Linked DNA regions of Homo sapiens: all the other regions are linked to region 1. The links are contacts of gene promoters, found by promoter capture Hi-C in human tissues and cell types (Jung and others, 2019). All regions are on one chromosome and are shown on one strand. The core of a region is centred on a gene start or on the middle of the fragment in contact, and the rest is flanking DNA. Distances in the headings are between cores, read along the strand shown. Region 1 holds the start of RAB1B (RAB1B, member RAS oncogene family). Region 2 holds the start of MAP3K11 (mitogen-activated protein kinase kinase kinase 11). Region 3 overlaps PCNX3 (pecanex 3). Region 4 overlaps LTBP3 (latent transforming growth factor beta binding protein 3). Region 5 holds the start of PC (pyruvate carboxylase).

The links. The method cuts DNA at HindIII sites, captures the fragments that hold promoters and counts their contacts. A contact is called where the count stands out against the background at its distance.
Region 2: the fragment with the promoter of MAP3K11 here is called in contact with the fragment with the promoter of RAB1B in region 1 in 1 of the 25 tissues and cell types used here (dorsolateral prefrontal cortex).
Region 3: a contact is called between a fragment that was not itself captured here and the fragment with the promoter of RAB1B in region 1, in 1 of the 25 tissues and cell types used here (dorsolateral prefrontal cortex).
Region 4: a fragment that was not itself captured here is called in contact with the fragment with the promoter of RAB1B in region 1 in 1 of the 25 tissues and cell types used here (mesenchymal stem cells).
Region 5: the fragment with the promoter of PC here is called in contact with the fragment with the promoter of RAB1B in region 1 in 1 of the 25 tissues and cell types used here (dorsolateral prefrontal cortex).

The regions. Positions count from the first base shown.
Region 1 is chr11:66,265,871-66,270,152 of GRCh38, reverse strand. It overlaps RAB1B (RAB1B, member RAS oncogene family), which reads right to left and starts at 1,514. Exons shown (of 6, transcript NM_030981.3): 1 at 1,460-1,514. The coding sequence starts at 1,473. It overlaps KLC2 (kinesin light chain 2), which reads right to left. Exons shown (of 16, transcript NM_001318734.2): 13 at 4,141-4,282; 14 at 3,936-4,060; 15 at 3,663-3,720; 16 at 2,293-3,280. The coding sequence ends at 3,197. KLC2-AS2 (KLC2 antisense RNA 2) reads left to right here and starts at 1,742. Exons shown (of 3, transcript NR_186342.1): 1 at 1,742-1,854; 2 at 1,945-2,098; 3 at 2,322-2,604. RefSeq lists enhancers at 414-1,295, 1,456-1,785, 1,906-1,955, 2,256-2,305, 3,062-3,944 and silencers at 2,416-2,735, 2,756-2,805. The HindIII fragment of the contact is 7,867 bases long and covers 1-4,282 here.
Region 2 is chr11:65,612,034-65,616,107 of GRCh38, reverse strand. It overlaps MAP3K11 (mitogen-activated protein kinase kinase kinase 11), which reads left to right and starts at 1,887. Exons shown (of 10, transcript NM_002419.4): 1 at 1,887-3,090. The coding sequence starts at 2,352. It overlaps PCNX3 (pecanex 3), which reads right to left and starts at 332. Exons shown (of 35, transcript NM_032223.4): 1 at 1-332. RefSeq lists silencers at 1-87, 2,098-2,277 and enhancers at 708-797, 858-907, 790-1,676, 1,418-1,847, 2,565-3,452 and 2 more. The HindIII fragment of the contact is 27,885 bases long and covers 1-4,074 here.
Region 3 is chr11:65,631,232-65,635,629 of GRCh38, reverse strand. It overlaps PCNX3 (pecanex 3), which reads right to left. Exons shown (of 35, transcript NM_032223.4): 28 at 1,274-1,504; 29 at 989-1,092; 30 at 510-657; 31 at 182-412; 32 at 1-101. Among named protein-coding and RNA genes, the nearest start is that of MIR4690, 2.9 kb to the left of the region's middle. The HindIII fragment of the contact is 1,572 bases long and covers 1,551-3,122 here.
Region 4 is chr11:65,545,710-65,549,845 of GRCh38, reverse strand. It overlaps LTBP3 (latent transforming growth factor beta binding protein 3), which reads left to right. Exons shown (of 28, transcript NM_001130144.3): 12 at 1,801-1,926; 13 at 2,025-2,156; 14 at 2,279-2,407; 15 at 2,926-3,048; 16 at 3,282-3,404. Among named protein-coding and RNA genes, the nearest start is that of LTBP3, 11 kb to the left of the region's middle. RefSeq lists silencers at 2,076-2,255, 2,756-2,825, 2,956-3,255, 3,266-3,535. The HindIII fragment of the contact is 7,062 bases long and covers 1-4,136 here.
Region 5 is chr11:66,956,442-66,960,752 of GRCh38, reverse strand. It overlaps PC (pyruvate carboxylase), which reads left to right and starts at 2,370. Exons shown (of 23, transcript NM_001040716.2): 1 at 2,370-2,431. RefSeq lists silencers at 1,933-2,292, 2,613-2,712 and enhancers at 2,363-2,412, 3,576-3,955. The HindIII fragment of the contact is 6,851 bases long and covers 1,423-4,311 here.

The sequences.
Region 1 (4,282 bases), core at 265-2,764:
CTGTAATCCCAACACTTTGGAAGCCCGAGGCACGAGAATCATTTAAGCCCAGGAGTTTGAGATCAGGCTGGGAAACATATCGAGACCCTGTCTTTACAAAAAATTAAAAAATGTGCCAGGTGTGGTGGTGTGCCTCTGTATTCCCAGCTACTCAGGAGGACAAGGCAGGAGGACTGCTTCAGCCCAAGAGTTGGAGACTGCAGTGAGCCATCGTCACGCCACTGCACTCCAGCCTGGGTGACAGAGAGAGACCCTGTCTCAAAATAAAAAAAAAAAAAGGCAAAAGGTAATCACATTTAATATACTTGAGTTCCAACCTGTGGACGGACCCTGTGTGAAGTACTTTAAATGCATCATCTCATTTAATCTTCACAACAGTTCAATGAAGTCAGTTTTGTCATTGTCAACTAATGAGGAAACCAGAGGCCAGAGAAGGGAAGTGACTTGCCCTAACTTACACAGTTTATCGCTTTAAGACTCAAACCAGGTTTCTCAGACTCCAAAGTCCCTTCGAGAGCCTGCTGGTTCCCTTCTCTGTTCCCCTCCCAATCCAGCTCAGAGCTTCACCCTTCCCCAAGGAAATCTGAGACCTGGATGTGGAGTAGAAAAAGGAAGTGGCAGAAAAGGAAGAAGATAACTGATACTTGGGGAAAACTATTAGTCCTGGGCATGAGATGTGGGCCACCTACCCGCAGGGGGAGTGACCAAGAGTGAGGAGAGTTTGAGGACCAGAGAATCCCACAGGAAGGGGGAGAGCAAATTCCATATTCATCTAAACTTCACAGGCAGTGTGACAGCCAAGGGAAGGGGTGTGACGGTGGCGTTGGGGGCCTGAGCAAAAGCGAGGAGAGGGCGGGAAAGGACGGACCGGCGGGAGCGACAGGACAGCGCGACCCAGGCAAAGGGTAGGAGGCAGCCCCGGAAGAGAGGACCTGCGGGAGACGCGACCCAAGCGGCGCTTCGGGGCCTCCCGCGTAGTTGGCTAGCTTCTGGGCCGGCCCCAGGAGCCGGGCTTCAGGAGAAAGAGAAGGGTAGAGGGATTCACTGCCCGACCTAAAGGGCCCAAGCCTGAACCCGAGACCAGAAACTATCAAGACGGGCTCCAAAACTCCGGGACAGTTGTCAAGCAGCAGGTGGGGAAACTGAGGCCTGAAGTGACCGGGACTGCGGGGTCATCTGACCGATAAGGCCTGGTAGGACCGATGTCTCGAGCTCCAAGAGCTGCCCCTGGGGGTCGCCACGTCTGGGCCCCGGGTGCGAGGGCTCGGGGTTTTGAGCCGGGGTCCTGGGGCCCCTGGGGGGAGGGGCAGAACCCGGATGTGGGGGGGGGTCAGCGGAAGAGGGACCCGGATGTGGGGGCGCCGCACAGTCCTGACCCGGGCCAGACAACCCCGGTAAGCGTACAGCCCTGTATTCGGGATCGAGGCTGCGCTGGACGGCGCGGGCGGGGCTCACTCACTATTCGGGGTTCATGGCGGCGGCGGCGGCCCGCTCGGTCGCTCCCAGTCGACTCTGCTCCGCCTCCCGTTCCAAGATGGTGGCCGCTCCGCCCCAGAGGCCCCGCCCGCGACGCGCAGGCGCAAACGTCTTCTTCTCAGGCCTCGCCGCGCTGATTCCCGGAACTTGTAGTCTAAGACGTTCTCCAACTCAGCCCCGCTGCGCAGGCGTAGTCGGGGAGCCCGCGCCTCCGCGCCCACTCCCATCACTGCTGGCGCATTGCCTTCTGGGGCTTGTAGTTTGCACTCCGGACGCACTCAGGCTTGAGGACAGTGCTGGAAAGCCTGACCGCGACTCGGTGTTTAGAAAGCTCAATTTAGGGCTGGGCTTGGCACGTTTCACATCTGTCTGACGGAGGTAGTCATCCTTGCCCTCCCAATACCCACGTTGTGAACATTAAATGAGAATGTGGGTTCTAGTAAGACTAATAAAAGTACATTTGTCCAGGGTTCTTCGTGTACTGGGCAGTCCTAACTCGCAGCCGCGCGTCATCACCCGCATTTCATAGATGAAAAAACTGAGTCTCGGGAAACTCACTCAAGGTCAAAAACTTTGTGAGGAGCAGAGCTCATAAGAGCCCGCGGTCTCCAGAACCCCACAAGTGAGTGTTTTAGGGAAAGCCTGACTTGTGGGCCCCTCACGCAATTCCGGGGTGGGGCACAATATCTGGGCCCAGCTGCGCGGACAGCGGTTGAGCGAGACACACTGTCCCCCACTCACGCACGACCCTTCCCGGCTCCACCCCAGTCTAGAGACGCTGGGGGCCCCCGACCTCCGTCTCAAAACAAGCCCAGCTCAGATTTAAACCGTCTTTATTTCTACAGCAACATCTGAAAATATGAGAGCAGCCGCCTCACCCGCAACAGGGGGAGCCCCTCCTGCCACCAGGGGACCGTCGCCGCCCCTCGCGAGAAGCTGCAGGCGTGGGGGGAGGCGAGGCAGGATGGCTCGGTGGGCGGTGCCCGGGGCGGGGTCGGCCGTGCCTGGGCGGGGCCGGGTGGGAGGGGCAGTGCATAAGGCCGGGATGCGGGGCAGGGCCCGGCGGTGGGAGGACGGACTAAGGGGAGGTCCCCGTCCTGGGCCACGGGGCGATGGCGCGGGTAGGACGCATCCCTCAGAGGCCAGGAGGAGCGCGAGAAGGTCCCAGGACCCCCTTGGGAGGCGCCGCTCCCGAGAATGTAGAGCCTGGGAGATACCACCGCACGGAATGGGGGTGATTAAGGCCTGGGCGGTACCACTAGAAGAGGGACGAGGGGAGGCCCGGGTAGTACCGTGGACTGAAGGGAGGCGCGCGGCCAATAACTTATTTCTCTATATACAGAAGCAACGGCCGGGTTGAGTCGGGAGGGAGGGCGAGGGTGCCGAAGGGCCGGCGAGTGCTTAGTGTTCTTGGCTCTGGGGTCTGGGGAGGCCAGGCCACTGAGTCTATGGTGGAGACTCCAGCCGGCACCTCCTGCTGGCCCGAACCTAGGGAAGAGGGCCCTGCTGGAAGGAATAAATAAGGGATGGAGCTGGAGTGGGCAGGCCCAGCCTCCAGGGCTCAGGCTGAGATGACAAGGGAGAAGGTTACCCTGAGATTGAACAGAAAAGACAGGGGCTGTGGGAGAGACAGGCGGGACAAGCAGCAGGCCCATGCGCAGGGCTGGGGTGAGGGGGGTGTGCCAGGTGGGCGCTCTGGTGACTGGCTGCCCCTTCAGCATTAGCCCACCAGGGAGCTTCGTCGGGAGAGGTCCATGGAGCTGGAGCTGAGAGTGCGGCTGTCAGAGAGACCTGTGCCTCCAGGCTGTGGGCAGAGGGGGCAGGTGGCTCAGCCCTGTGCTGCTGCCAGTCTGTGCCTCCCTGGCCTGAAGGGGTCTGACCTGGCAGAGGCAGCCGGAATCCCTGAGCTGGGCAGAGGCAATGGCAGTTCTGACCCAAGGCCACACCCTGGTGCCCTGACACTCCCGTCCATCTCCACAGTGACGGTGTTAGCACTGGCCGTTTACACGTCCACCCCCAGGAGAGGCTGGGTTCCCCTCGTGTCTCCCCGTTGTCCAGCCCAAAGTAGGCCTGAGACAGAGCCAGGAACTGTTGCTGGATGAAGAGGCATGCTGGAGGGAAGCTTGGCAGCACGCATGCAGCCCCGGCCGCAGCTGCCCAGTGCCCAGACACCCGCCTGCCCCTACCTGGGTCGGCTCTTCCACGCTCTTGTTGAGGAAGTTGAGGGAACTGGCCCGCTTCATCCTGAGGGAAAAGGACAGCCTGGGATTTGCCCAAGGAGGAACTCACGGGAGATGGGGGCAGGGAGAAGGGTGGGGCTGGGGAGGGAACAGACTGGTGGGTGGTGGAGCCTGAGAGGGATGGGGAGGTTGCCTGGGGTCAGTGGGGCACACTCTGGGTCAGGAGCTCATCCGGGGTTGCTGGGTGGTTCTTGAGGCTCACCTTGGTGGGGGGCTCACCTGGGGTTAGGGGGCTCCTGGGGGGTGCCCCCCTGCAGCTTCTTTACCAGCATCTCACTGCTGCGCCTCAGGGCATCCCGGAGTTTCCCAAAGGAACCGCTGCGCCTCAAGGAGCCACTGCCATCCTGCAGGTGGACAGGCTTGCCTCTAGGCCCCGCTGGCCACCTAGGCTCCCAGCCCGACCCGGCCCAGGCCCCGGACTCACCCCATTCCACTCAGCTGTAGGTCCCACGTCCTCGAGGTCAGACTCAGACCGAGGCCCGGCACCCCCAGCCATGTCTCGGCTGCTGCGGCGGTCTCCCCGCCTGCCACTGCCATCTTTCAGCAGTTCTACCACCTTGGTCTGG
Region 2 (4,074 bases), core at 638-3,137, 650 kb after region 1:
GGACGCGGGGGTGGGGCTGCATCAGGGGCGGGGTCCGGGTCCCCACTCCTGGCCCAGAATTGCTCCGAGGGGCCGAGCCGGCAGGCAGGCGCGGGGCACGGGCCGGGTACCCGTCGGCGGCATCCAGAGGTGGTCGTGGGGTGGGTGCTCCCGGGGTGCAGGCGACAGCTCCCTAGTCTCCGGACCAGGGAGAACCCCAGGATCTGGGGTCCACTTTCGGGGTCGCAGGTCACTTGCTTGGGGCTCCGCGCTCGCCCGGCTTCTGCTGGTGCCGGCCTAAGGAGGAGGCCGGAAGAAGGAGCCGCGAACCGCCAGCCTGCAGTGGCGCATGCGCCCAACGATTCCAATTGGGACCCGGAAAAGGAAAACTTGACGGCATGAATGCGCAAGCGCAGAAAGGTGATGGCGCGGTAGGACGCGAGGGGTGCCCTTTGGGCGTGCGCAGACTCCAGGACTAAAGCAAGTTCGAGCGTAAAAGCGTTTGGGCGCATGCGTAGACCCAGGCGTTGCCAACCCAGGGTAGACGACTGGGCGGAACCAAAGAGACAGTTGAGTAGCCATTGGGTAACGGCAAAGTAATTGGCGCACAGCTCTTCCAATGAGTTACAGGAGGCGGGGAAAAGGTGGAGGCGTGGACTCCCCTAGTAGCAGCGAGAGTTCTGCACTACCGAAGCACGCCCCTCTCGGCCCGCCCCCTTTAATGCTGGACCTCGTACGTCACGACCGATTTCGCTCCCAGCGGCGTCTACTTCCGGGTCAGAGCTCAGACCTAGGGTGTAGAGAACAACCTTCCGTAACAGGCAGGAATAGTCGAAATAGGATAGCGTCGTCTTTCTTAAAGTGACAGGCTCAAAGCAATTGGGGCAGCCCTATCCAGAAGTTGTGAGGGCGACTCAGCTATTCTGAATCCAATCCTGGGCAAAGTTCTGGACAAGTCTCAGGTTTCTGCCAATGGGGAAGGGATATGAAGAAGCGGATTGTTTCCCAGGTGAGGAGAAGAAGAGAGCCTTAGGCAATCCACTCCAAGAGCTTGAGGTGCAGCCAGTTCCGTCTGTCCTCCAGTCTTCCCCACCCCATCCAACTAGCTCTACGAGGCAGAGCTTTCTCGTCCTCATATCATATATGAAAAGAATGGCCGGGCGCGGTGGCTCACGCCTGTAATCCCAACACTTTGGGAGGCCGAGGCGGGAGGATCACGAGGTCAGGGGTTTGAGACCAGCATGGCCAACATGGTGAAACCCGTCTCCACTAAAAATACAAAAATTAGCCGGCCGTGGTGCCACGCGCCGGTAGTCCCAGCTACTCGGGAGGCTGAGGCAGGAGAATCTCTTGAACCCGGGAGGCGGAGGTTGCAGTGAGCTTAGACTGCGCCATTGCATACCAGCCTGGGCGACAGAGCAAGACTCCGTCTCAAAAGAAGAAAAAAGAAAGAAAATAATGAGGCTCAGAATCGATGGATCGCACAGTCCCACAACTTCGCAGCCAAGACCAGACTCGGGTTCACCCCCTTCCCAAGTGTGGTTCTGTAACCCCGTTTTGCTGCCGCCGATGCGGATGCAGAGGGCAGAGATGGCCCATCCTTAGCAGAGACCAACCTCCACCCTAGGCAGCAGAGCACGCAGCTGGGGGCTTTTCTTTCTAGATCTCAAAAGCCTGCTGTGATGGGGGATCTGGTTCTGCCCTTTCCCTCTCTGCCTCTCCTGGCCCGCCTACCCGGGAACTCCCCGCCTGGAGCCTCTGGGAGGGGAGCGGTGCAGGCCGCCCGCGTCATCTGATGCTGTTTCCTGCAGGAGGGAGAAGAGCGGAAAAAAGTGAAACTCCACCCTCCACCTCTGCCTCCCGCCCCCGGGGCCAAAGTACAAAGGGAGGAGGAAGAAGGGAGCGGGGTCGGAGCCGTCGGGGCCAAAGGAGACGGGGCCAGGAACAGGCAGTCTCGGCCCAACTGCGGACGCTCCCTCCACCCCCTGCGCAAAAAGACCCAACCGGAGTTGAGGCGCTGCCCCTGAAGGCCCCACCTTACACTTGGCGGGGGCCGGAGCCAGGCTCCCAGGACTGCTCCAGAACCGAGGGAAGCTCGGGTCCCTCCAAGCTAGCCATGGTGAGGCGCCGGAGGCCCCGGGGCCCCACCCCCCCGGCCTGACCACACTGCCCTGGGTGCCCTCCTCCAGAAGCCCGAGATGCGGGGGGCCGGGAGACAACACTCCTGGCTCCCCAGAGAGGCGTGGGTCTGGGGCTGAGGGCCAGGGCCCGGATGCCCAGGTTCCGGGACTAGGGCCTTGGCAGCCAGCGGGGGTGGGGACCACGGGCACCCAGAGAAGGTCCTCCACACATCCCAGCGCCGGCTCCCGGCCATGGAGCCCTTGAAGAGCCTCTTCCTCAAGAGCCCTCTAGGGTCATGGAATGGCAGTGGCAGCGGGGGTGGTGGGGGCGGTGGAGGAGGCCGGCCTGAGGGGTCTCCAAAGGCAGCGGGTTATGCCAACCCGGTGTGGACAGCCCTGTTCGACTACGAGCCCAGTGGGCAGGATGAGCTGGCCCTGAGGAAGGGTGACCGTGTGGAGGTGCTGTCCCGGGACGCAGCCATCTCAGGAGACGAGGGCTGGTGGGCGGGCCAGGTGGGTGGCCAGGTGGGCATCTTCCCGTCCAACTATGTGTCTCGGGGTGGCGGCCCGCCCCCCTGCGAGGTGGCCAGCTTCCAGGAGCTGCGGCTGGAGGAGGTGATCGGCATTGGAGGCTTTGGCAAGGTGTACAGGGGCAGCTGGCGAGGTGAGCTGGTGGCTGTGAAGGCAGCTCGCCAGGACCCCGATGAGGACATCAGTGTGACAGCCGAGAGCGTTCGCCAGGAGGCCCGGCTCTTCGCCATGCTGGCACACCCCAACATCATTGCCCTCAAGGCTGTGTGCCTGGAGGAGCCCAACCTGTGCCTGGTGATGGAGTATGCAGCCGGTGGGCCCCTCAGCCGAGCTCTGGCCGGGCGGCGCGTGCCTCCCCATGTGCTGGTCAACTGGGCTGTGCAGATTGCCCGTGGGATGCACTACCTGCACTGCGAGGCCCTGGTGCCCGTCATCCACCGTGATCTCAAGTCCAACAACAGTGAGTTTCTGGGGGCATGGTTGGGGGTGGCATGGCTCTGGTACACACCTGCTCCCAACCTTCCACTGAGCCTAGCTTAGGGTCTACTGCAGGTAGGAGCTCCCACCCTAGGGGGTCCCAGCTGACCAGGGGTGCCCATGGGCTCAAGCTAGCCCCCAAACAGAGCCCCAGGCACCCAGCAGAGTCTTCCTGCGCCAGCTTCAGAAGTCCTTGACCCCAGCCTGCAGCTGCGGTTTGGACAAGTTAAGAAATTGGTATCTCTCAGGTGGGCCATAAGCATCCTGCCCAGCCATGGCTCCCACCTCAAGGAAGTCCTCTGGAAGCTCGTGCTCCTCATCTTCTCCTCCCCTAAATTCATGTTCGTGGAGTTGGTGCTCTGTCCTCCCCTCCCGTCGTCATGGGCAGCTCCTCCAGAACAGATATCTCAGAGAGGGAAGCCCTCCTTGGCAGTCAAGGCTAAGGCCAGGGCTGGAATTCTGGCCTAGCCCTCCCTGGCTTCATGACCTCTAGCTGGTTACTCCAACTCGGAGCCTCAATTTCAGAATCTGTAAAAAGGGAGAGTGAAACAGCTCAACAGCTTGGGCAAGCCCGACCTGCGATCCCCAACCCACAGCGGGTCCTCAGCCATGGAGATGGACATTTGAGGGCTGGATCGCCAAGAGGGCCTAGCCTGAAATCAGTGCTTGGGATGGGAGTGCTGGGCTAAGGGAGACTCCATCTCCCATCATTTCAAGCCCCCGACACGCTGCCCATCATGGCCCAAGAGAAGTGAGTGACAGCTTCAGAGGGTTTCCTGGTGCACGCAGCATTTAGAGAGAGAAGGCATGGAAGCAGGACCCAGCACACAGCAGGGACCAGGAGCAGGGGCCTCCTAGAGCCCAGAGTGCAGGCTGGAGAGCAGCAGTAGGAAATGCAGGAGGGGCCAGGCTCAGTGTGGTCACTGGAAAAGCATGAGACATTCTTAGAGGGGGGTCAACGTGGATA
Region 3 (4,398 bases), core at 1,087-3,586, 640 kb after region 1:
TTGGCGTTCTGGATGCTGCCACGCTCGGGGTTGCGGTTGCGCAGGAACACCAGCTCCTGCTGCTGCCCGGCCCACAGGCCGCGCACGCACTCCCGGTTCACCTGAGAGCCACACGCCAGGGTCAGGGGGCCGGCCCAAGGGGGTTTGGGGCAGGGCTTAGGGCAGGTGGGGCCGGCCCAACCTTGATGACTCGGAAGCTGAGGTGGCGCCGGTTGAGCATGATGATCTTGTACTCGTCGGAGGCATCATCCAGGACATGGCGCAGCGCCAGCAGGGAGGGCGTGTTGCTGAGGATGGCGCTGCGCCATGCTGGGTCACCCTCATGTGAGATGACCAGCCGCTCCTCGTTGGCCGCAATGGCATCGTATAGGGCTGCTGGCTCCTCATATTCATCTGGGGACGTGAAGTGGTCCTGGTAGAGAAGACGGGAACAGGGGTCAGTGGCCCCTGCCCTGGAGAGAGGCTTCATCCCCCACCTGCCCATGCTGCTGGGCACACCCCTCCCCAACCTGGTGAAGCTTGAGGGCCATGCGAACCCCAGGCGCCACAACGCGGTGAAGCAGGTCCATGTCGGCAAAGACCCACTCGTCACGTGGGGAGGTGATGCGAAAATCCCCCTTGAACAGGGCGTGCAGGCCGTAGAGGAAGGGCTCCAGGCTAAGTGGGAGGAAAAACAGGGAGGGGAGAGAGGGGTGTCGAGGACCCAGGGGTAAGGCTTCAGAGTGATCCAAGCAGAGGCCTTTCCTCACGCTGAGCCTCAGTTTCCCCATCTTGACAAAGAGGCCAATCTCTGCCCATGTCTCTCACAGAGCACTGAGGAGCAGGCAAGGTCATGACCAGGAAGTGCCCTGCCCGTGGGAGAAGAGGTACCCCAACAGGAAGGGCCACTGCAGTTTCTGTGGCCACTGTGGCCAGAGACCACAGTGCTCTTCGTGGAAGAGGTGGGGTGGGGACGGCAGTAGGCCCCGCGGGACACCCGAGCACTCACCTTGCAGACATGCTGTGAGAGGCTGTCCCCAGGGCCCGGCGGCCCAGCACACACAGGCCAAAACACAGCGTGACCAGCGGGGAGTTCCAATCCTGGTCCACGGGCTGTGGCATAAGGACCCCCATCCCAGAGCCCAGCTCAGACCTGGGACAGGGACCTTGGAGTGGGGGCTGGGGCTCAGGCTAAGGGAGGCTCAGAGTGAGAGGAAACCAAATGGGGAGAAGGGGAGCAGGGAAGCCCAGGTCCCACAGCCCCAGGTGGCAGCCTCAGGTAGTGGAGCCTGACCTGGCTGCGCCGGGAGGCGCAGTACTGGATCCACTCGAGGTGCACAGCACAAAAGGAGGGCAGCGAGAGGCCAGACAGGCGGAGGTCATAGTCCTCATCCACACTCAGCGAGAAGGTGGGATCCGAGTCGGCATAGCCGGGCACCCGCACAGGCCTCAGGGCTGCCGTGATGCCCTCATGGCTGAGCCACACCTCCAGCTTTGGTGAGCGGCTCACGTAGTAGATGATGCTCTGGGAGAGGAGGGGCAGGCGTCAGGCCGGGGTCCCGGCCCTGGCCACTGGAGGAGAAAGCATGGAGGTTCAGAGGCTCCTCCCCAAGACTGAGCTGAAGTCCGCTTTCTGGGATGCCCCGCTCCTAGAGCCATCTCAGCTCTCAAGAGCAACCAAGCAAGTTGGCTCCTTCCCCTAGACCAGGGAGGAGTGACAAAGCCGCCAGGAAGCACCCACTTACAGAGCAGGAAGTCCTGTGCTGGGGCTAGCACTCACAAGCAGCATCTGCCTGCCTCTGCCCTAGAATATGCCCCGTTTGTATGAGAAATTGAGGCTCAAACAAATGGCAGCCCCCAACGAGAACAAGATCATCACACTCAACATTTACCACCTCAGCTTCCAAGTCATCAAGGTGGAGCTGGCCCCACCTGCCCTGAACCCTGTCCCCCACCCGCCTCTGGCTGGCCCCGACACTATGGTGTGGCCCTCAGGTGAACCTTCAGTGCCTGTGCAGCACGTGGGCCAGGTAGCAGCAGGAGCTGGTGTTCCTGCACAAACATAACCCCGAGCGCGGGAGCATCCAGATGTCACATGGGCAGGGGGCGGGGAGCGAGTGGGGCAGAACAGACTGAACTGCCGCCTGAACCCCGGACCTTCCCCATCATGACATTGTGGGATCCAGATCTCGGGGCCGGAAGGGCAGGCTGAAGTAGTGGGCCTGCCTCAGAGTGCCTGGGTCACAGGTCCCTTTAGGCAGCTGAAGCATGACAGCCATCAGGCCTCGCCTCAGAAAAAAGCCACGGGCACATGTGGTACCCAAAGCTGGGGGCTCCTGGACCTCTTGTTAAAAGGCCCTGTTGGGCAAAAGTACAGGAGCTTTGGAAGACAGGTAGCTGGCATGGCCAGGATGCACGGGCGGGTTAAGGCCGGCAGGGCAGCCAGTGAGGTGATGGGGATTCCATGTGCCACCCTAAGATGGAGCTAATGGGGCAGGCCCTTTGCCAGGGCAGACCCGCTCCAGACTGACTTTCTTGCCCATAGCTCGCCTCTACAATCCAGGCACCACCAGAGCTGCTAAAAAGACCCAGAAAAGAAAAGCTTCAGCCAGACAGGGTGGCTCACACCTGTAATCCCAGAACTTCGGGAGGTGGAGGTGGGAGGATCGCTTGAACCCAGGAGTTCAAGACCAGCCTGGACAACATGGCGAAACCCCATCTCTACAAAAAATACAAAAATTAGCCAGGCATGGTGGTGCATGCCTGTAGTCCCAGCTACCTGGGAGGCTGAGGTAGGAGGATTACTTGAACCTGGGAGGTGGACACTGCAGTGAACCCAGATGGCACCACTGCACTCCAGCCTGGGTGACAGAATGAGACCTTGTTTCAAAAAAAAATAAAAAAAAGAAAAGCTTCAGGGACCGGGAGAGGAGCTGGCCTGGCACATATCAGGTGCTTGGTTAACCTTCACCAGTGCCATCCTTTTCTCTGACACAACACTCACGGTCATCTTAGGAAGAAAATGAAGACGGGGGGCAATACCAGCAGCCGCTCCGCCTGTGAGCGCTCACTGCGAGCTGGGCTCTGCCCAAGGTACTTCCCGGGAAGCACTGCCCAGACTCCGTGCAGCCTCAAGCCACGGTGCCTTTTCCTGCTCTTGTAGCCCTTCCCAGCTGCAGAAGCAGGTCTGAGAGCCCAGTAACTCCCACGGGAAGGGCAAAGCTAACGGGAGGGGCTCCGCCTCGACTGGCCAACCTCGAAGGCTGGAAAGGACCTATCCCTGCAGCTGGGACACTTCCCCAGATGCACCAGGCTCCCCAGCACACCCGCCTCCCCCCGCCCCACCCCTGGCAGCCCTGACTTGTCCTTCCAAGCTTCACCCTCAGTCCACATCCTCAGCGGAGCCACCCCAGGTCCTCCAAGCACTTCCTCCAGACTCAAATTCTGCCCAGCCTTTGAGGCAGCCTTAGATGTGGCCAGTCAGCTTCCCCATGGGACAAGAGACCTGGCCAGGTGCATCTCAACCTGCTGGCCCTAGCCTAGCAGGCACAGCAGGGCAACCTGGGCAAGGGCACCTCTCTCAAGATGGGACCGGAAGGTGGACCAGGCCATGACCTCTCGGTGACCTGGGACTGGGAATGTCCCTCTCTAGACACAGCCTCCTTCTTGATGAAAGGGGGGTGGTCTCACAAATCCTTGCCTAGGAGTGGCTGGGAGGGCAGAAGGAATGACAAATGACAGCTCCTCTGATATGTGGTGTGGACAGGATTTCCTTTGGAGAAGGACAGCCAGGGCCTCGTGAAACTACTCCAGAGAGAACCTAGGTGGCAGGCTCACCTGGGCCCCAGTAGGCCACCCACCGAGCCCAACATAGGGAGCACCAGGGTAGATCCTAAGAAGGCACGTGGGAGCCTGCACTGTGATCAGCAGGCCACCCCACTCCCAGTACGCTTATTCTGAGCACCACAAGCCTCAAAATTCCTTTTTTTTTTTTGAGACAGTCTTGCTCTGTTGCCCAGGCTGGAGTGCAGTAGCACGATCTCGGCTGGCTGCAACCTCTGCCTCCCAGGTTCAAGTGATTCTCCTGTCTCAGCGTCCCAAGTAGCTGGGACTACAGGTGCCCGCCATCACACCCGGCTAATTATTTTGTATTTTTAGTAGAGATGGGGTTTCGCCACATTGGCCAGGCTAGTCTCAAACTCTTGACCTCAAGTGATCCACCTGCCTTGGCCTCCCAAAGTGCTGGGATTACAGGCATGAGCCACCACGCTTGGCCAAGCCTCAACATTTCTGCCATCTCAGAGAACTGCAATAACCCCCACTTCTCAAGGGGTAAGCTGAGGGACACAGGGAAGAAACATTCCAGGCTGATCAGAACCCCCATTCCAGGGCTCCTTATGTACCCCACATTGCCTCACC
Region 4 (4,136 bases), core at 1,116-3,615, 720 kb after region 1:
GGGCTCAAGTGATCTTCCAGCCTTGGCCTCCCAAAGTGCCAGGATTACAGGTGTGCGCCACCATGCTCTTTTTTTTTTTTTTTTTTTTCCCGGCCTGGGGAGTTTTCCTGTGAAAACTGGGAAACTGTGGCAGGGTGCAGTGGCTCACGGCTGTAATCTCAGCACTTTGGGAGGCTGAGGTGGGTGGATCACGAGGTCAAGAGATTGAGACCATCCTGGCCAACATAGTGAAACCCAGTCTCTACTAAAAATCCAAAAAAAAAAAAAAAAAAAAAAAAGATTAGCTGGGCGTGGTGGTGCATGCCTGTAGTCCCAGCTACTCAGGAGAATCACTTGAACCTGGGAGATAGAGGTTGCAGTGAGCCAAGATCGTGCCACTGCACTCCGGCCTGGGGACAGAGTGAGACTCCATCTCAAAAAAAAAGAAAGATGGTTAGAAATGCCAGAGACATGAGGAAGGGAGGGGCATTCAGGTTGGGAAAAGGATATCACAAGGGAAGTTAAGTTGGGCAAAGGCATGGAAGCATGAAACACTGGTGGAGGAGGGAGAACCCACACACAGGCCAGTGTCTCTGAACCAGGGGAAGTCCAGTGCACTGAGCCTTGTCAAGGAGGCTTGAGTTTAATGCCAGAGGCTATGGGCAGTGTCTGCAGGATTTTGAGCATCATAATTGCTAGCTCAGACTGAGCAGTCCCTCTGTGCCAGGTACTGTCTGAAGAGTTTTACGTTCTAAATACCATTTAACCTTCTCATACTCTGCAAAGTGAGCGTTGTTAGCCTCGTTTTCCAGATGAGAAAGCTGAGCCTCAAAGAGGTTCAGTAACCTGCCCCAGGTCACACAGCTGAGCCGTGTTCAAGCCCATGCCTGTGTGGGCTTCAAAAGCACAAGGGAACTGCCAACCCAGCTGAAACCCTGATCCTCCATGAGCTCCTAGGGTTAGGGCTCAGGTGGGAGATGGCTGTTCTTGGGGGCTTTGGGAATGTGGACAAGGCCCCTCAAAGGAGGGGCTGTTAAGGAAGCCTAAGGAGAGGTACTCCAGGCAAAGAGAACAGCCTGCAAAGCCCACTGGCCAGGTGAGTTTGGGGCAGAGCAGAGTTCACTGTTATGGCCCAGGCTGCATGGCAGGAGTGAGGGGGAAGGGGTGTGGGAAATGAAACTGGTGAGCAGTGAGGATCCAAAGGAGGGGAGAGGCTGGAGGCAGGGAGTCCTGGGCTTGGTGACAAAGAGAGTGAGGGGGGTGGTTCCTGGATCTGACTGCCTGTGCACAGCTTTGGCACTAGTTAGGATTCCCAGGAAACCAGCTCCTGCTAGTCTTGGGAGGGGGTAATCAACCCTTCTGGAATAGGGGGTCGGGTCCCTGGGGCAAGGGCTTATGGAGTCACTGGGCTAGAGGACACTGGTGTGACCGAGGCTATAGAGTTTAAGGTATTGAGGCGACTGGGGAGAAAGGAGTTTTAGTCCCTTGGGTGGGAGTACTGGGACGACTGAGGGGCCCTGAGGGGATGTGGTTTGGTTTGAGGTGAGTGGGGTCAGGGTCTTGGAGTGAACCGGGAATGGAAGTATCCGGGCCTGGGTGTGGGGTGATACGGCTGTCAGGGGCCTGGAGTCCTAGTTTGGAGCTTTCTGGGGTCTTGATATTGGGGTTATCTAAAAGAGAGAAATAGGACATCCTGGAGTTGGAGTATGGGCGTACAGGAACCTGAGGTCATGGTGTGACTGGGGTGTTGAGGTCTGCCCTGGGGATATGGCAGAAGGTGAGCGCTCCCTGCTCTGCCGCTTGACCTGGCCATGCCCGCAGAGACTGATGAGTGCCGACTGAACCAGAACATCTGTGGCCACGGAGAGTGCGTGCCGGGCCCCCCTGACTACTCCTGCCACTGCAACCCCGGCTACCGGTCACATCCCCAGCACCGCTACTGCGTGGGTGAGCGCAGGGCAGGCGGCGGGCATGCAGGTGGGTGGGGGGGGACCCCAGATAACGACGCTTCCTTTGACTTTTCTTGGCCTACCCGTTCTTCTCAGATGTGAACGAGTGCGAGGCAGAGCCCTGTGGCCCGGGGAGGGGCATCTGCATGAACACCGGCGGCTCCTACAATTGCCACTGCAACCGCGGCTACCGCCTGCACGTGGGCGCCGGGGGGCGCTCGTGCGTGGGTGAGCGCCGCCAGGGCGGAGGCGGCCCTGGGTGGGACGGGCTCTCCTCCAGACCGCCGTGTAATCCCTCCCCTTGCCCGCCGCCTCCTACACCCCCTTCGTGGCCCCTTCCTCCCGCACAGACCTGAACGAATGCGCCAAGCCCCACCTGTGCGGCGACGGCGGCTTCTGCATCAACTTTCCCGGTCACTACAAGTGCAACTGCTACCCCGGCTACCGGCTCAAAGCCTCCCGGCCTCCTGTGTGCGAAGGTGAGGGGACCCCATTCAGACCAAAGAAGGAGCTCCTTAGCTGTCTCTCCACCTGGGGTGGGGCTGGGGTGCCTGCATTTTTTTTTTTTTCCCCCGAGACGGAGTCTCACTCTGTCGCCCAGGCTGGAGTGCGGTGGTGAGATCTTGGCTCACTGCAACCTCCGCCTCCCGGGTTCAAGCGATTCTCCTGCCTCAGCCTCCCGAGTAGCTGGGATTACGGGCGCCTGCCACCACGCCTAATTTTTGTATTTTTAGTAGAGACGGGGTTTCGCCATGTTGGCCAGGCTGGTCTCGAACTCCTGACCTCAGGTGATCCACCCGCCTCGGCCTCCCAAAGTGCTGGGATTACAGCCGTGTGCCACCGCACCCGGCCTGTATGCTCGGCTCTGGGCCTCTCAGAGGTTGGGGTCCGGGAGCCTCGTTGATCTGTGTGGGAGGAAGTCCCTGCTGTGGACGCTGGGAGCCGGGCCACCCGCGTTGTCCCCAGATGGGTCCTCTTCCTTCTCCCTCCCGTGCAGACATCGACGAGTGCCGGGACCCAAGCTCTTGCCCGGATGGCAAATGCGAGAACAAGCCCGGGAGCTTCAAGTGCATCGCCTGTCAGCCTGGCTACCGCAGCCAGGGGGGCGGGGCCTGTCGCGGTGAGGGCGGGGCCCGGAGCCGAGTGGGTGGGGCCGTCAGGTGCCTCCCCCAGTCTGGCTCCGCTGGGGGCGGGGCGGGGTAGCGGTGGTGATTGGCGTCTGGGGGCGGGGCCTTCCGGGAGTAGAGGCTGCCCTCTCAACCCCGCGTTCCAGGGAAGAGACCCACACCCCCGCGAGGTGCGCGGTCCGCCTTCCGGTGGGGCAGAGTCCGAGGCTAGGTCTTTCCGCCGCAGACGTGAACGAGTGCGCCGAGGGCAGCCCCTGCTCGCCTGGCTGGTGCGAGAACCTCCCGGGCTCCTTCCGCTGCACCTGTGCCCAGGGCTACGCGCCCGCGCCCGACGGCCGCAGTTGCTTGGGTGAGCGCCAGCACCCCCGCCCCGGGCCTCCGCCGCCCCCTACGCGCTGAAGCCGGGGAGCGGGTCACGCTGTCTGTAAACAGTGGGTGGAAGGTGGCTCATTCATCCCCAGGTGACTCTGCTCACTCATTTTCTCAACGAACTTTGCCAAGGAAGGCACCACTAGAATTTCCACGTAGGAAGGGTCTCGGGGTAGAGCTCGAAGCTGCGTTTGCAAAGCATGTTACTTAAATTTGAAGGAAAAAAGATATCAAAGAATGAGGGCAGACGATAGTACTCCCCCCTGCACTCCTGTTTATTATACGCCAAGAGGCGGGGCTGGGGGCTGGGACTCATTGAAAACTGGAGAAGGAAAGACAGACTGTAGCATGCAGTGCTGGGCCTGGATGGAGCTGGGCTGCTTCCTGGAGACACAGCGGGATGGGAGGAAGGAGGCCTGGGTCATCTTAAAGAATCACTAGGAATTGGGCAAGAAAGGAGGAGAGGAACAGCATGGCAGGCACAGGGGTTGGCACTGGCAGATCAGAGGTGAGACAGAGGGTGGGGTGTTGGGGAACTGTAAGGAATGATCAGGCTATGGGGGCTGAGGCTGGCCGGGGAGGGACAGGTCCCCATCCCTTGGAGGGCCCCCTAAGTCCTGCCTGGGAGGTTGTGCTTCACCCAGAAGGTGTTAGAGGGCACCTGCAGCATTTTAAGTGTAAGAGTGACAAGATTTGCCATTTGTTTTAGAAC
Region 5 (4,311 bases), core at 1,121-3,620, 690 kb before region 1:
TTGTACTTTTTTAGTAGAGACGAGGTTTCACCATATTGGCCAGGCTGGTCTTGAACTCCTGACCTTGTGATCTGCTGCCTCGGCCTCCCAAAGTGCTGGGATTACAAGTGTGAGCCACGGAGCCCGGCCCCATTTTTTAATTTTTAAAAGACAGAGATGAGGTCTTAGTGTGTTGCCAATGCTGGTCTCAAATTCCTGGGCTCAAGTATTCCTCCCTACTCAGCCTCCCAAAGGTGAACTGGGATCTTAATCCTTGTTCTGTTACTAAAATAGCTGTGTCGGATCCAACCCAAGGTTGGAGTTCTTCAGGACGGGTAGAAGGAATGACAGGGAAGTTGGAGTGAGAAACTACTTATACAAGAAGTCTGAGAGAAGAGTCAGATCTCTCCAGGCTCAATAAACAATTTCTAGTTAGCAAGATGTTCTCATAGTCTTTGATTCTCCTTTTTGGAAGCAGGTTATTTTTTCTCTTTGCCCTTATCACCATCTGATGTACTATGTATTAATCTGGGCCGGGCGCGGTGGCTCACGCCTATAATCCCAGCACTTTGGGAGGCCGAGGCGGGTGGATCATGAGGTCAGGAGATCGAGACCATCCTGGCTAACAAGGTGAAACCCCGTCTCTACTAAAAATACAAAAAATTAGCCGGGCGCGGTGGCGGGCGCCTGTAGTCCCAGCTACTCAGGAGGCTGAGGCAGGAGAATGGCGTGAACCCGGGAAGCGGAGCTTGCAGTGAGCCGAGATTGCGCCACTGCAGTCCGCAGTCCGGCCTGGGCGACAGAGCGAGACTCCGTCTCAAAAAAAAAAAAAAAAAAATATATATATATATATATATATTAATCTGTCTGCTCTCCTTTGAAGGCAGGATTTTGGTTTGTTTGGTCACTCCCTTATCCCCTGGTTGGCACAGACCCCAGTTTACGCAGCGGTGAATGAAAGTAAAAATCTCGGGACCCCCCCCCAGCGCCCCAATTCATGCGAAAGTGAAGATTAAGCCTTGAAGCTGAGTCACTGCAACACCCTCTTCCAAAAGAATAGCTGTTACTAGCATTAGGCATCAGCCATATCCACACGGAAAGGTAAAAACCTCAGGCATTTGGGAAGGGCTGCCCCCACAGATCATTCACAAGTAAATTCTTGCTGGCCTCCCATAAACAAGGACAGGTCAATTGTAGCTTCAGGTCTACAATCTAAGTCTAGCTCCTAAAAATTCCACAATAAGAATGTCATTACAAGCTTATTTTCCCAGGTGCAGAACAAAGTCAAAACTACCTACTCAGAGACATCTGCATAACTGACTCTTCCTTTACTCTCTTTTTCTCTTCAGACATTCATCTCATCTTACGTAGATTTACCGGGCATTAGCTAAAGTCCCATAGGAATGTAACTATTGTCCTAATCGCCTACTTGCCCTTCTTCCTACATGCCTTCCCCTCATTCCCCCTTTAAGGAAATGCATAAATACTAAACCTCCCGAAAACCTCTTCGGAAAAACAACCACGGATGTGTCTGTGGTTCGTGTTTTTCCCGAGCACGCCCTCAAACTGGATTAATAAGCCTCGATGACAGAGACTTATGCCTCAGTCACTTGTTCCACTTGTCAAAGCTTTCCTCTTTGACAAGTGTCTTGGGTCTTGTCAAGTGTCTTGTGTCTCAAACAAGGCTTCCAAACCCCCTAGGTCCTGAGTAGCTTCGCTCTGCAGATGACAAAACCGAGACTCAGAGGTTAAGTTGCTTGCCCAAGGTCACACAGACGTACTGTAGACCCCCATCATCATCTACGCAGCTGTTAAAGGACATAGTCATGTAACCCGTGTGGCACAAGCGCCTTCTCCTTCCTCCTGCCCTTCGCTAACGTTAGCTTTTCCTGCGACCTCTTCTCCGCTAGCCAGCGCGTATCTGCGTCTAGCCGGGATGCCTGAGCCCCAGTGCGAACTGTTGTGCTTGCAGCTTCGGGAGACACGTGCTACTCGGGTGAATGAATCGAACGTCCCCACCCCCGCCGACAGCCAATAACTGCGAGCCACAGCCCGGCCACTTCCGCCTATTGCGGGCGTCGGCTAGGGTCCGGCGGCCCACGTGAGGCTCCGGAGACAAGGGAGTAGGCGGTGGTGCGCCAGGGGCGGGCTCTCCCAGCCTCGCCACTTATCCAGGCGCTCGCCGGGGACGGGAGGGGCGGGGCTGACGTGGGGCGCCAAGGCTTAAACGTGACGGACAGGCGGGCACAGGGAGGAGTCCAGAGCCTAGGGGCGAGGAGTGACGGAGAACACTGCCCAATAACGGGAGGGGTTGGGCTGTCTGGGCCAATAGGAAGTCCGTAAGGCGGGGCCGGGACTGCAGCAAGTTCGGTTGCACGGAGACCGCAGCTGTTCTCTGTCAGTGGAGGCAGCAGCGGTAGAGGCGGCGGCGAGGACTGGCGACGGCGAGGAGGTGAGTGTCCGCCGCGCTCCGCACGGTCCTCTTCCCGCGGCGGGTCGGAGCGGGTGGACGTGCGCCGGCACCGCTGCGAGGGACGCTTATGTAAGGGTCGCGCGCGCAAAGGCGGCGCGGGCTCCGCGAGTGACGGCTGGAGGAGACAGCGACGGGCTGTGCGCGGTGCGCGACGCGACGCAGCGGACGGCGCCCCTCCCCCTCGCGCGGGGGCTCGGCCGGCTGGACCCGCCCCCGGACCCGCCCCCGGCTGCAGCCCCCGAGCGCCCCTCCGCAGCGTCCGCCTGCGGGCTGCCTCATTCTTGCTCTCGGGCCCATTTTGCAGATGGAGAAACTGACTAAAGCGCCTCGCGCGAGGTCCCTGAGGGTTCGAACCCAAGTCTGTCAGGATCGGGAGCCCAAGTTGTCCCCATCGTACTGGATGTGGCTCAGCTCTGCAGGAAGCCGCGGCGTGTAAGGCGAGGGCTTTCCTTGTTCCTTGCTCTCGCACTCCGCCTCCCGTAGGATCCTCTACTTTGTTTCAGACGGGGAAGCTCCAGGCGCCCAGACGCAGTGATTCGCCCAAGGCCGCTCATTCAGGAGGTGGGGCTGGGCTCAGCCCCTTATTTCTCCAGCTTTTAGTAGTTTACAAAGCGCATCAGAGTCGGAAGCCAAGTCCCTAGGTCCCTGGCAACTTTGAGATTCTTTTGTTTTCTTTTCTTTTTTAGACAGGGTCTTGCTGTCACCCACCCAGGCTGGAGTGCAGTGGCGCGATCTCGGCTCACTGCAGTCTCGACCTCCCGGGCTCAAGCGACCCTCCTGCCACAGTCCCCCAGTGCTGGGACTACAGGCGGGCGCCACCACGCCTAGCTAATTTTTGTATTTTTTGGTAGAGACGAGGTTCCGTCATGTTGCCCAGGCTGGTCTCGAACTCCTACGCTCAAGCGAGCGGCCTGCCCTGGCTTCCCAAAGTGCTGAGATTACAGGCGTGCCTCGTCTGAAATTCTAAAAAATCAGATTGTGTCTTTATTTTGTGAGAAGAGGTAGGCCTGGGCTCCTTACCCGTTCTCCAGCTGAGAAAACAGGCTCAGAGAAGTACCAACACTTGCTGATGACAACCAGAACCTCCAGAGTGCCTGCCATCTGCCTCCCTATTGCTCCCGTACCCACTGCCACCATCAGCCCTGGCTGGCCTCCCCCAAGGCACCCTTTCCCTGTATGTGATGCAAACACTTGTGCTGGGGGTGGATGTGCTCAGCATTTCTCTCACTTGCAGCTACAGCTTCCTGCCTGCAGGCTCTCCTTAACTGTTGAACTCTTAATCACATTCTTTTGCACACCTACAGTGTTCCTATCCCTACACTGGGCCGAGAGACAGCGTGGGCGATGAGGTCAATCCTTGTCCTGCAACTGCTGACAAACCCATTGGGGGAGAGAGAAAATAAACAAAACCTAAGCAGCAAGGCAGCCTGCTGCAGATGTTTGTAGAGAGCCTAGTGGGTGAGGTATTGGCCCTAGGAGGACATGGAAGAGGAAGTTCAGTAGAGGCCAGTAAATCACAGCAAACCACACACTAAAGCGAGAGAGAGGAGAAATGGCCTGGAAGGGGATGGGCTTGGGAAGGCTTCGTGGAGGAGGTGAGTTGTGGACCTCTTTTTGATGCCGCTGCAGTGGAGAAACAGTGATTGGATTTCAGCAGCTAGAAAGTTTTATTCTGGAGAGGTTTTGTTAAAGAGGTTTTTTTGTTTTTGTTTTTTGAGATGGAGTTTCGCTCTTGTCGCCCAGGCTGGAGTGCAGCGGTGTGATCTCAGCTCACCACAACCTCCGCCTCCCGAGTTCAAGCGATTCTCCTGCCTCAGCATCCTGAGTAGCTGGGATTACAGGCGCATGCCACCACACCT